Linked DNA regions of Homo sapiens: region 1 is linked to region 2. Evidence: promoter capture Hi-C in 16 types of primary human blood cells and fetal thymus (Javierre and others, 2016). All regions are on one chromosome and are shown on one strand. Each heading gives the region's core, a stretch centred on a gene start or on the middle of the fragment in contact. The rest is flanking DNA. Distances are from core to core; before and after follow the strand shown. Region 1 overlaps COL28A1 (collagen type XXVIII alpha 1 chain). Region 2 holds the start of GLCCI1 (glucocorticoid induced 1).

What was found. Contacts are between HindIII fragments. The CHiCAGO score rates a contact against its expected background, and 5 or more counts as called.
Region 1: a contact is called between a fragment that was not itself captured here and the fragment with the promoter of GLCCI1 in region 2, in 1 of 17 cell types (erythroblasts). The highest score is 5.4, in erythroblasts.

The regions. Positions count from the first base shown.
Region 1 is chr7:7,414,564-7,419,674 of GRCh38, forward strand. COL28A1 (collagen type XXVIII alpha 1 chain) reads right to left here. Exons shown (of 35, transcript NM_001037763.3): 27 at 3,296-3,364. Among named protein-coding and RNA genes, the nearest start is that of COL28A1, 120 kb to the right of the region's middle. The HindIII fragment of the contact is 615 bases long and covers 1,617-2,231 here.
Region 2 is chr7:7,965,789-7,971,044 of GRCh38, forward strand. It overlaps GLCCI1 (glucocorticoid induced 1), which reads left to right and starts at 3,008. Exons shown (of 8, transcript NM_138426.4): 1 at 3,008-4,019. The coding sequence starts at 3,563. GLCCI1-DT (GLCCI1 divergent transcript) reads right to left here and starts at 2,964. Exons shown (of 5, transcript NR_110018.1): 1 at 2,756-2,964. RefSeq lists silencers at 2,831-2,980, 3,191-3,590, 3,671-3,730, 3,821-3,900 and an enhancer at 4,381-4,470. The HindIII fragment of the contact is 4,760 bases long and covers 2,003-5,256 here.

The DNA of each region.
Region 1 (5,111 bases), core at 674-3,173, 550 kb before region 2:
CACAGCAGCAGCCCTGGGTGGTCCCAGAGCCCCAGGAAAGGCCGGGGAAAGAAGTTCCCAGAAGATCATACTCTTCCACATAGAGAATCAAGAGAATAGGAAGGGGCATGGAAAGAGAAGCCCTTCTACTCCCACATTCCTTCCAGTCATGTCCATTCATTCTACAAATGGTAGCCAGAGTGAGTCTCTTCCAAACTGATCAGATCATTCTTCTCTGACTTCCAGTTGCTCCTAGGATTAAGGCCAAACTCATTACTTGGCCTATAGGACCTCACAAGGGCCCTGCCTACTGCTGTAATCTAAATTCACTCCATTGTGCCATCCTCTATACTCTCCAGAACTCAAAGTTTAATTATTTTATAGCCTGTAAATTCCATGAGGACTAAGTTCACATATTTTTACTCACTACTTTATACTAGCACTTGGCTTATTTGCCTGACATAGGTGATGCTCAATCCGTATTGGTTGGTCAGCTGAATGAATGAATGACTGGCTGAAGAGCCAATATTCTAGCAACTAAGTTAGGTTGAAGCAAATCACTTGTGATTGCAGCTACAACCCTTATTTCTCCCATAAGTGGAAGGGGATAGAGAGACAGAGTACAGTTCAGGCTTCTGTGTTAAAGGTTAACAGCAACAAAGCTTTCCGTCAAAGGCTACTAAGCACACACACCTGCAAGCAGATTTCACTGATTCAAATGCTCTTTGGAAAGGGGTAGGAAATAAGTCAACAAATGAATGTAAGAAATGAAATTTTACTGTTCCTATATCCTTGAAATGACTCAGAAGAATGCCACCAATTTGGTTTTTCAGTTCCCTCCCTTTTGCAGTGATGGTATTTCGTCGGTGCAAAAGTAATTGCGGTTTTTGCCACAGTCAGGAAAATGAGATGGAAGTCCTGAGGGACGAACCTCTGCCCTGCTACCAACTGGATGCCAGGCAATCCAATATGTCTAAAGAGGTTTTTCTGGTTGTTTTGTTTGTTTTTTGAGACAGAGTCTAACTCTGTTGCCCAGGCAGGAGTGCAGTGGTGCGATCTTGGCTCACTGCAACCTCCGCCTCCAGGATTCAAGCGATTCTCCTGCCTCAGCCTCCTGAGTAGCTGAGATTACAGGTACGCACCACCATGCCTGGCTAATTTTTGTATTTTTAGTAGAGATGGGGTTTCACCATATTGGTGAGGCTGGTCTCAAACTCCTGACCTCATGATCCACCCACCTCGGCCTCCCAAAGTGCTGGGTAGTTTTCTTTTTTTGGGAAGACAAGGTCTCACTCTGTCATCCAGGCTGGAGTACAGTGGCACTATCTCAGCTTACTGCAGCCTCTGCCTCCTGGGTTCAAGCGATTCTCATGCCTCAGCCTCCTGAGTAGTTGGGACTACAGACATGCACCACCACACCAAGCTAAGTTTTGTATTTTTAGTAGACACGGGGTTTCACCATGTTGCCCAGGCTGGTCTTGAACTCCTGACCTCAAGTGATCTGCCTGCCTTGGCCTCCCACAGTGCTGAGATTACAGGCATGAGCCACTGCACCCGGCCTAGAGAAGTTTTATGAGTGAGCCTTAGTCAGGGCTCACTGCTAAGCAGCATCAGGCTACAGCCCTAAGTGAAGGAAAAGCTTATCTCATTTCTGATAAGATGGGATACGTGGCAGTTTTGATTTTGGTGCTTTCCTGTGATGGGAGGCTTCAGGACCTGGTTTCACCCAGGATGGAGTTTAGACACAGCATAACCCTGAGGGCATAAGGAGAGGCAGGAAGCCAGATAAGTTATAGTCGGTAAGGATTAATTAAACACAACCCAGGTGAGAATGAGGAAGTAGTTCCCAGATAACAAAGTGGAGAAAACCGGCCCCAGGCCTAAAGACGTGGCAGCAATAACCTAACAGCATGTGTGAACTGAGCTCATGTTGGTGACAGGACCTGTGGTTTGGCATAGGTTTATTCCCTAAGCAAACTCATGCAAAACTGGGTATACAGCACTACCACCTTCTAACCACAGAATTTAAAGATTAAGTATGAGATTGGTGTTGTTTATGAGAAAGCAGAGTGTTGCTGTATTTTCTTTCCAGGGCTTGTACAATATGGGCAACATGCCTATTTGGCCTTTGCTTAGATACTCAGCCCGAGAGATGAACAACAGTTATTTAGAAGACCTGCTGTAGAAGCTCTAGACATTGTGTGATAAAACTGGAGATTTAACACACATTCTATGAGTTCTGCTCTTGACTAAGCTTACTCTCTCTACACAGAAGTAGGCAGTTTAATTTCAACACAGGATTTTCACATTATCTTAAGCTCCTACTGTCTCCTACTGACTAAGAAGTTCTGCTATTTGAAAAGGAGTTTATTTTGAATGTTCCCACAGTTTTAGAATCAATCTCAATCATCCAGAGGTGAATAACTCAGTTTCAAAGCTTAAGCATGGTAAAAATATATATATATATAAATGTATGTAAAATAAAAAACCAGCTTATGACGGGGGCAGCAGTGGAATCGGAAAAAAAGAGAGTGAACCGATAAGAACAACATCATCAACATATTAGAAGCAGAAGAGGGAATTTTTTAGAATTACATAGTAATGTTTAGATGCCAAATTTGTCTACTGAGACATGAGAGACCCTGAGAGTCCCAGCATGCTGGACAAGCTTGTTGCTGCTGACGCAGAAGCAAAGTGACATGCAGATGGCTATGAATTCCAGTAACACAGACTCAGGGCCTAGAATAGAGGTTCTCACCTTGGCTGCTCAGGAGAATCCCTTGGAGAGCTTTGAAAACCACAGCACTCACACTCTACTCCCAGAGATTCGGATTTCGTTCCTCTGGGAAAGGGCATTAGTACTATCCAAAAGCTCCCTAGGTGATTCCACTGTGAGCTAAGATTGGGAAGCCCTGGGCTACCATGGAGGATACAGGTGAGGAAGGTAAGGGAAGGAGGGAGGGGGAGGGAAGGAGGGAGGGGGGAGGGAGGGAGGGAGGGGGGGGGGAGAGAGAGAGAGAGAGAGAGCAACTGAGTATAAATTCTCCATTCAATTCACAAAGAGGGGAAAGCAACAAACCATAGAACAGTTCACTTTTGCACCAAGCAATTTATATAATGTTTAGCATTTGCTGAAGTATTGTACTCATACCATTTTTACACTTCCAGATGATGTCTCTAAACACTGGATGCCATTTAACTGCGAGGCTCACAATAAATCTATTTCATAATAGCCATTTTTGCGTTATCTACAACCTCTTCTCCCAATCACTCTGGTGAAATCAGAGGTGACTCCAGCACAACCCTATTCACTTACTTTAATTCCCTGTGATCCATAGCCAGGGGGGCCAGGAGGGCCAGGCAAGCCTTTCTGCCCAGTATCACCCTGTTAGAAGATGGGGAGAATTTGAAGACAAAATGTAAGAAGATCGAAGAAGAAACAACGTTAAGTATTACTACTCTCAGCTGCATTCTTACTTCAGTCTGACCAGGACTTTCATGCTGCCTATAAGCTACTTCCTATTTTACTTAGAGTGCTTCCCCAATATTTTTAAACCACAGAATTCTATGCAAACAAAACCTTAAATATAATCCAAATAAAAATTAAGCAGTAAGCAGAGCCGCTGGGCCTAAGCAGAAATGGAGGCCCAGGGCCTCATCTGCTTGGGCCCCCTTCACTGCCCTACCACCAAGCTCAAGAACACCAGGGCTGCCCTGCACCACATATGAAAACCACTGACATGTGGCTCCACATAGCCTTAAGATGTTGCTCCATTTCAATATAAGGTGTGATTTCACTGGGGTTGCACTTAAAGATCCAGTGGATATCAATGTCCAAATTTTTAGGAAAATGTGTAGATGAAGCTATAAGCAAGTGTAGCATTTCCCAGTATCTGTTCATAAACTGAGCCCATGTTTCTTTGGAAACACTTCGTGGTGGAATAAGATTGGAAAATAGCATGCGCTTTCCCTTGGAGATCTCCAGTGCACACTAATATAGTAGACTAATGGCTCTAACAAGTCCCACAGTAAAGAAATTAGTGTAACGTTGCTTATCCCAGAAGTTCCTAAATTAACACTGGATGGAAGAAGCCTTCAGAAGTGCTGGGTTAATATAAGTTATTGTATAAGTCAGTCTTTTACTTTCCAGTATTAAAAAAGCTTGACTTTTTCTGATTATAAGAGGAATACCTGCCCATTGCAAAAAAAAAAATTAAACAGAAATAAAGATGACATGAACAAGAAAAATAGACCCATCTTCCCATCACCCAGTGATAATGACTACTAACATCTTGGGGGGATCTTCATCCATTTAAAGTGATCTAGAAGGTTCAAAAATAGCATACCGCCAAAATTGAGTTGAGGGACAAAACAGAGATAAACTGAGAATCTTGGTAATTCTGGGATGCTCAGTAAAATCTTTGACTCATACAGCCTTTTCCCTCTCCTCTCTGAGAATGGGCTCTAATTCACTTCTGTGCATTTTCGGCATGAATATACCAATTCAAAATTTGAATTTGTGGTGGGTGGTTCATTGACATCTATTTTCCCTATTGAACATGCTTGCTACTTCTTTACCCTACTTTCGAACAAATCAAAGAAAGTTGTTGAGCAACTGAATGAACAATTAAAACTAGGTTTCTCAAACTCAGCACTATTAACATTTTGAGCTGAGTCACTCTTTCTGATGGGAGGCTGTCCTGGGCATTGTAGAATGGTTGGCAGCATCTCTGGACTTGATCTACTACAACCAAAAAATGTCCCTAGACATTGCCACATGTTCTCTGAAGCCAGGGAAGGGAAACAAAGTCTCCCTCTTTGAGAAACACTGGATTAAAAGAATAAAAGGATGAATAACCACCAAACTGAAGGAGACATAGAAAGGAGGGAAACTGGGCCAAAAGAAGTTGCTCTCATCTTCTCCAGGGACAATCAGTCTAGACCCTTGTACTGACACCCTGCCAGAGTAGCTGTGGCACAAAGGGCACAATGACACATTAGCAGGTGACCTGTTAAAAAAGCCACCTGAGGCACCTCTGCCAAAGTAAAGATGTGCTTCTTGATGACGGCACAGCCTCTAAGAAACCCAGAAATGTTCTGAGCACTTTGCAGTTAAAAAGAGGCTGACTTGC
Region 2 (5,256 bases), core at 1,758-4,257:
GAACAGAATTCTACCTCAGATTAGCTAATGGCAGATCCTCGTCCCACAGATAGCCATGGCATGGGGCTACTGATACAGAAGTATTTCTCATGCCACCAAATTGTGCCTTCAATTTTGTCTTCTTTACACAGGACAACATAGTAAGAGGTCATTGTTAACATTAAGTCTTATATAAGATTTTCAGAGATTGTTACACTTACATTCAACCAGTATGGAAAATCGGCACTAGGCCTAACTACCCCATAGCTAGCATAGTAGCATAACAACGCTCTTCTAGCCTAGCAATCCACATCTCATTCTAGGGGGTTTCCAATTTACTAAGAACATTTTCTTAAAGCTTCTATATATCCTTGGAGCTTACTTTGTCCTCAATAAGAATAAAATATTATCAAGAACTCAACAAATGGACATTTGAAAGCAGGCACTGAGTTTAATTTATTTTAGGCCACCTTTGATTTGTTTGAAGCCTGTATTCCTTAAATATGAAGATCAGTACTTACGTCGTGAGAATAAAGGTTTAAGAGACAACCAAGGTTTCTATAGCAAAGAGAAACGACTGAGCTTCTAGATTGGTCATAATGACTTACTAGTAACTGAAAATAGTATTTTAAGATCATACTAATTCTCTGTTTCTCTGTGTGAGTTATTTAGATTTGCTTTAGATGTCTAAGTCAGCTGTGGTAGATTTGAACAAACACAGAAAGTCCTTAAAATATGACTAGGTATGTTGCTTTAGATCCAAATTAGGTATTGATCATTGTGATTGTGACCTAGAATAAATTTAGAATTATTGTAACCTAATGTGTTGAAGTTGTTCCATAAATATATTTAGGAGTAGCTAGAGATGACATTTCTATAATGCAACTATGCTGTAATCAAAGCAACAACTCAGAAATTTACCAGCATGTAAAAGAAAAATCTTAACTTTTTTTCTTCTTCTTCTTCTTTTTTTTTTTTTTTTTTTTTTTTTTGAGACAGGGTGTCATTCTGTCACCCAAGCTGGAGTGCAGTGGTGTGATCAAGGCTCACTGCAGCCTTGATCTCCCGGCCTTTTGGGCTCAGGTGATCCTCCCACCTCAGCCTCCCTAACCGCGTCCAGCTAGTATTTTTACATTTTTAGTAGAGATGGGGTTTTGCCATGTTGCCCAGACTGGTTTCAAAATCCTGAGCTCAAGTGATCCGTCTGCCTTGGCCTCCCAAGGAGCTGGGATTACAGGCGTGAGCCACCGCACCTAGCCAGCTTTACATATTTTTAATCTGTCAGATTTTTTGTTCTTGCTATTCTGAGAAAAGTCACTGAAAAGAAATCATTTATCATTCTTTTTACACACAAAATAATGCAGTTTTTAAATTAATGAGATAGGCCATTTATATAAAATTTGAAAGAGTAAAGTTTTTATTCATAATTAAAATATATGTTATTCTGGAAAACAAAAAAAAAGTAGTGGTCTGTCTTCATTTGTAAAATTTCCTTTGAACTGATGGGAACTTATCTCACAGATGAGATTTGTGGGCCATTGTGAATACTCTACAGATTATGTACCCCACAGCTTTGAGCTGCCAGGTACTATAGCAGAGTGCTTCCTCAGACTCTTGAGCCAGTCTGTCTGGGTGAAATTTTTAGCTCCCCATATACTAACTATGTGATCTCAGGCAAGACAGCTTATTTATGCCACAACTGAGACCACAGTAAGGATAATAATAGTATCTACCTTGTGGATTATATGAGGACTGAATGAATTAACACACATAATGTTCTTAGAATAGCGGCTGGCACATGGTGAATAAATGTTAGCTCTTATTATAATATGTGGTAAACTGAGGAACTATCACTAGTTTTACTTGGATGAAGTACTGCATGAAATTTTTGTATTTTTATTGAGTTTCATCAATTTTTTTACTGAACCTAGTATGCTTTCTCGTCTGAACACACAAGGAAGAAAAGAAGGATGGCTCCTGTACGTGAAAGTGACCCCTGCATATAGTGCCTGAAATCAGAGGAAGCTTGTCAGTGTGGGCAGACACCACGAGCAGACCAATTTGACATTGTGCTTCTCTTTTAACCTCTTGAAAATTAATGAAAGTTATCTGATGAAGATCCTTACATTAATTGCTCCCGATTAAGGTTTAAAACCTTGGTTTACTGTGGGGTAAATTTATGTTTTTGATAGTCATCCAAAATCTTTGTACGCTTTCAGTTTCATTACAGAATAAAAAACAAATTTACCACAATGGATTATTACATTACATCTGGTATTTATTCCTCCCAAGAAGCTATCTGCTTCGGAAAAGCCAGGGGCGCCCTTCATTAATATATCTAACTGATGGTGTAATGACATAAAATTCCTTGTTGACCCCTGCTATTCAGTGTTATTGTCTTGGAACATAGAACTTGATAATCTCTTTTCACTGCATAACTACAAATGTTAGGCTGTAAGAGTATTTTACTTTGTTCAGTGCAGGTTCCAGACATTTCTCCTGATCACCAGAAGTTCTTTTGATTAATAAGGCTACTGGTCACGAAAACTCAGCTTACTAAAAGAGATCCAGTCTTCTGGTTCTAACTAAAACATCCCACCGGATGCAGGTGTACTTGCAAATTAAAGTTTGCCTCATGTGTCCTGTGTCTCAAGTCATACAGACGGCCCAGGAGGGTGGAGCCCCTGCAACCTGCCTAGCGGGGCGTTTGCGTGTCTGGGGGTGTCGGGACACGCGCAGGACACACACAGTCCCACTTTCCTAGTCTCGCACTTACCTCAAGGCTGTCAACTTTTACGCTCCTCCCTGCGCGCACAGCCCCCACCTCACGCTGCCACCCCTCACGCCCCGCCTTCAAAGTAGGAGGCACCATTGTCATTGGACACTGCTTCTCTCACTCCTATTCCAGAACCAATCACTCGAGTTCTAGTGGGGAGCGCCTAAGCCAATGGAAATGCTCGCTGCGGCAGCTGCCGGGTCCTGGGCGCTGGGAGGCGGTGCCGGGGGCGGGGTGCGGCTGGGGCGAATTAGTTGCCATTCGGAGTGAGGAGTGGGTAGAAGCGGCGGCGGCGGCGGCGGCGTTTGCGGTGGCGCGGACTCCGAGGAGCGCCAGCACCTCGAGGCCCTTTCTCTCTACCCTGGTCCCCAGAAGCAGGGGTCCCGGCCCTCCTTGCAGCTGCCGGGTTCTCCCGTGCGTGCAGCCCTGCGAGGGCTGAGGAGAAGGCTGCGAGCGGCCCTCGGGGCTGCGTGATCCGGGCCGTTGCCCTGTCAGCACGATGCCTGGAGCGGTGGCGGCGGCGGCTCCGGGCTCCTTGCGGCCCCGGCCGTGACCGCCACACCGAGCCCAGCCGGGCGGTTGCGGCCGTTGGACGTTTGTTTTCGCAGCCTTCCCCTCCCCCCTCGCCGAGGCGGCGGGGGTGTGCGTTGGGGAGGGGGAGCCCCGAGACTCCTCCCCCACAGCGATACCCCCGCCCCTCCCCCTTACACACTCGCACGCACTATCGCGCCGGCTCCCACACGCTCGCGCGCCTCCCGCCCCGCGCCTCCGTGTCGGCCGGCGGCGTCCAGGGCCCGCAGAGCCACCATGTCCACTGCCTCCTCCTCCTCCTCCTCCAGTTCCTCTCAGACCCCTCATCCCCCGTCGCAGAGGATGAGGCGCAGCGCCGCGGGGTCCCCGCCCGCCGTCGCCGCCGCCGGGAGCGGGAACGGTGCGGGCGGCGGCGGCGGCGTGGGCTGCGCCCCGGCTGCGGGAGCCGGCCGGCTGCTGCAGCCCATCCGCGCCACGGTGCCCTACCAGCTCTTGCGGGGCAGCCAGCACAGTCCCACGCGTCCGCCCGTCGCCGCTGCCGCCGCCTCGCTGGGCAGCCTCCCGGGGCCCGGCGCGGCCCGCGGCCCCAGCCCGTCCAGCCCGACGCCGCCGGCGGCCGCAGCCCCGGCCGAGCAGGCGCCGCGGGCCAAGGGCCGCCCGAGACGGTCCCCAGAGAGCCACCGGAGGAGCAGCTCACCTGAGAGACGGAGCCCCGGCTCGCCCGTGTGCAGAGGTAGCGAGCCCAACCCTCCCGTCCTCCCGGGCTGCGTCTCCCCGACGGTGCCCTCCGTGGAAACTTCAGCCTCTTCGGGCTTCTCTTTGCTAGTGCATTATCGAAGGTGTGAAAGTGGCTTTGGGAATCTCACCCCCCTGCGGTCGCTGTGGGGCTTGGAGGAGCGAACTGAAAAGCGACTTTTATTTGACCCTCATGCCGCCCCTCAGAGTCTCTCTTCCATCACTCGCCTGCTTCGAGAGGTTTTTCAGTTTAAGAGCTGGCTAGCTCATTCGTGTGTTTGCCGTTTGTAGCCGGGGAAGGAGAAGCTGGGCGAAACACTTAACACGCACACAAACTCTTCAGCAGCGGATAAGGTGGCGGTTGTAATCTCTACCGTCTCTTTGTGCTTTTCTGCAAAGTTCCTAACGTGCCTGTAACTACCGGGATAGTATTTTATTTTTTAGAGGGTTGGTGGCATTAGTTTCGATGTAAGGATATCGGCTGGATGTAATGATATCTGCTAGAGGGGACAGTTTTGAATGTACAATTGAAGTGTATACGGTTTTTTCCCTCAGTCCTCCCTCTCTCCCTCTCCCCCAGCCCCCCGCCACCCCGCCTCTCTCTCTCCCTCTCTTTCTCCCCCTCCCCTTTATATATTCATGCATCAGAGCACTCCTGCACTGGAAACAGTTTGTGCTCTACCGGAGATTTTCATGGTAAATTTCTGAAAACTTATTTGTGGAACGTGTTCGTTTTTTTCCTTCCATTTTTAAGTACACTTAACAGTTCAGTTGAGCTGTTCAAGGATCTCAAGTTTCTTTTTTTGTTAGGTGTCAAAGGTAATGGTGAGCTGGTGGATGCTGTGGGTTTCCCTTAGTGTTTTCTGTTTTGCTTTGGTTTTGTTTATGTCTAGGGACACAGTGCATGATTTAGTTGAGCCCTGGGGGAGAAAAGGAAGATTAGCCAAAACAGGGACTTAAAGCTCATAAGGGAGAGTGGAATAGCTAATATTGTTAGATACCGAACTAGAGCTACAGATGCTGCTGCTGCATTGTGGAGGGAACAGATCATACTGGGTGGAAAAATCTCTGCTTGGAAGGGAAACACTGTCAAAGTCTGTACATTGTTTATGTGGTATGTGGAATTTTTTTTTTTAATGGAGCTTTCTTGATGAAGGTGTTAGAGTTGGAGAAAGTGGTTGTCTGCATTATGATACATTGCAGTCTTGGTGTTTTTGTTTTAATATTTCAGACCC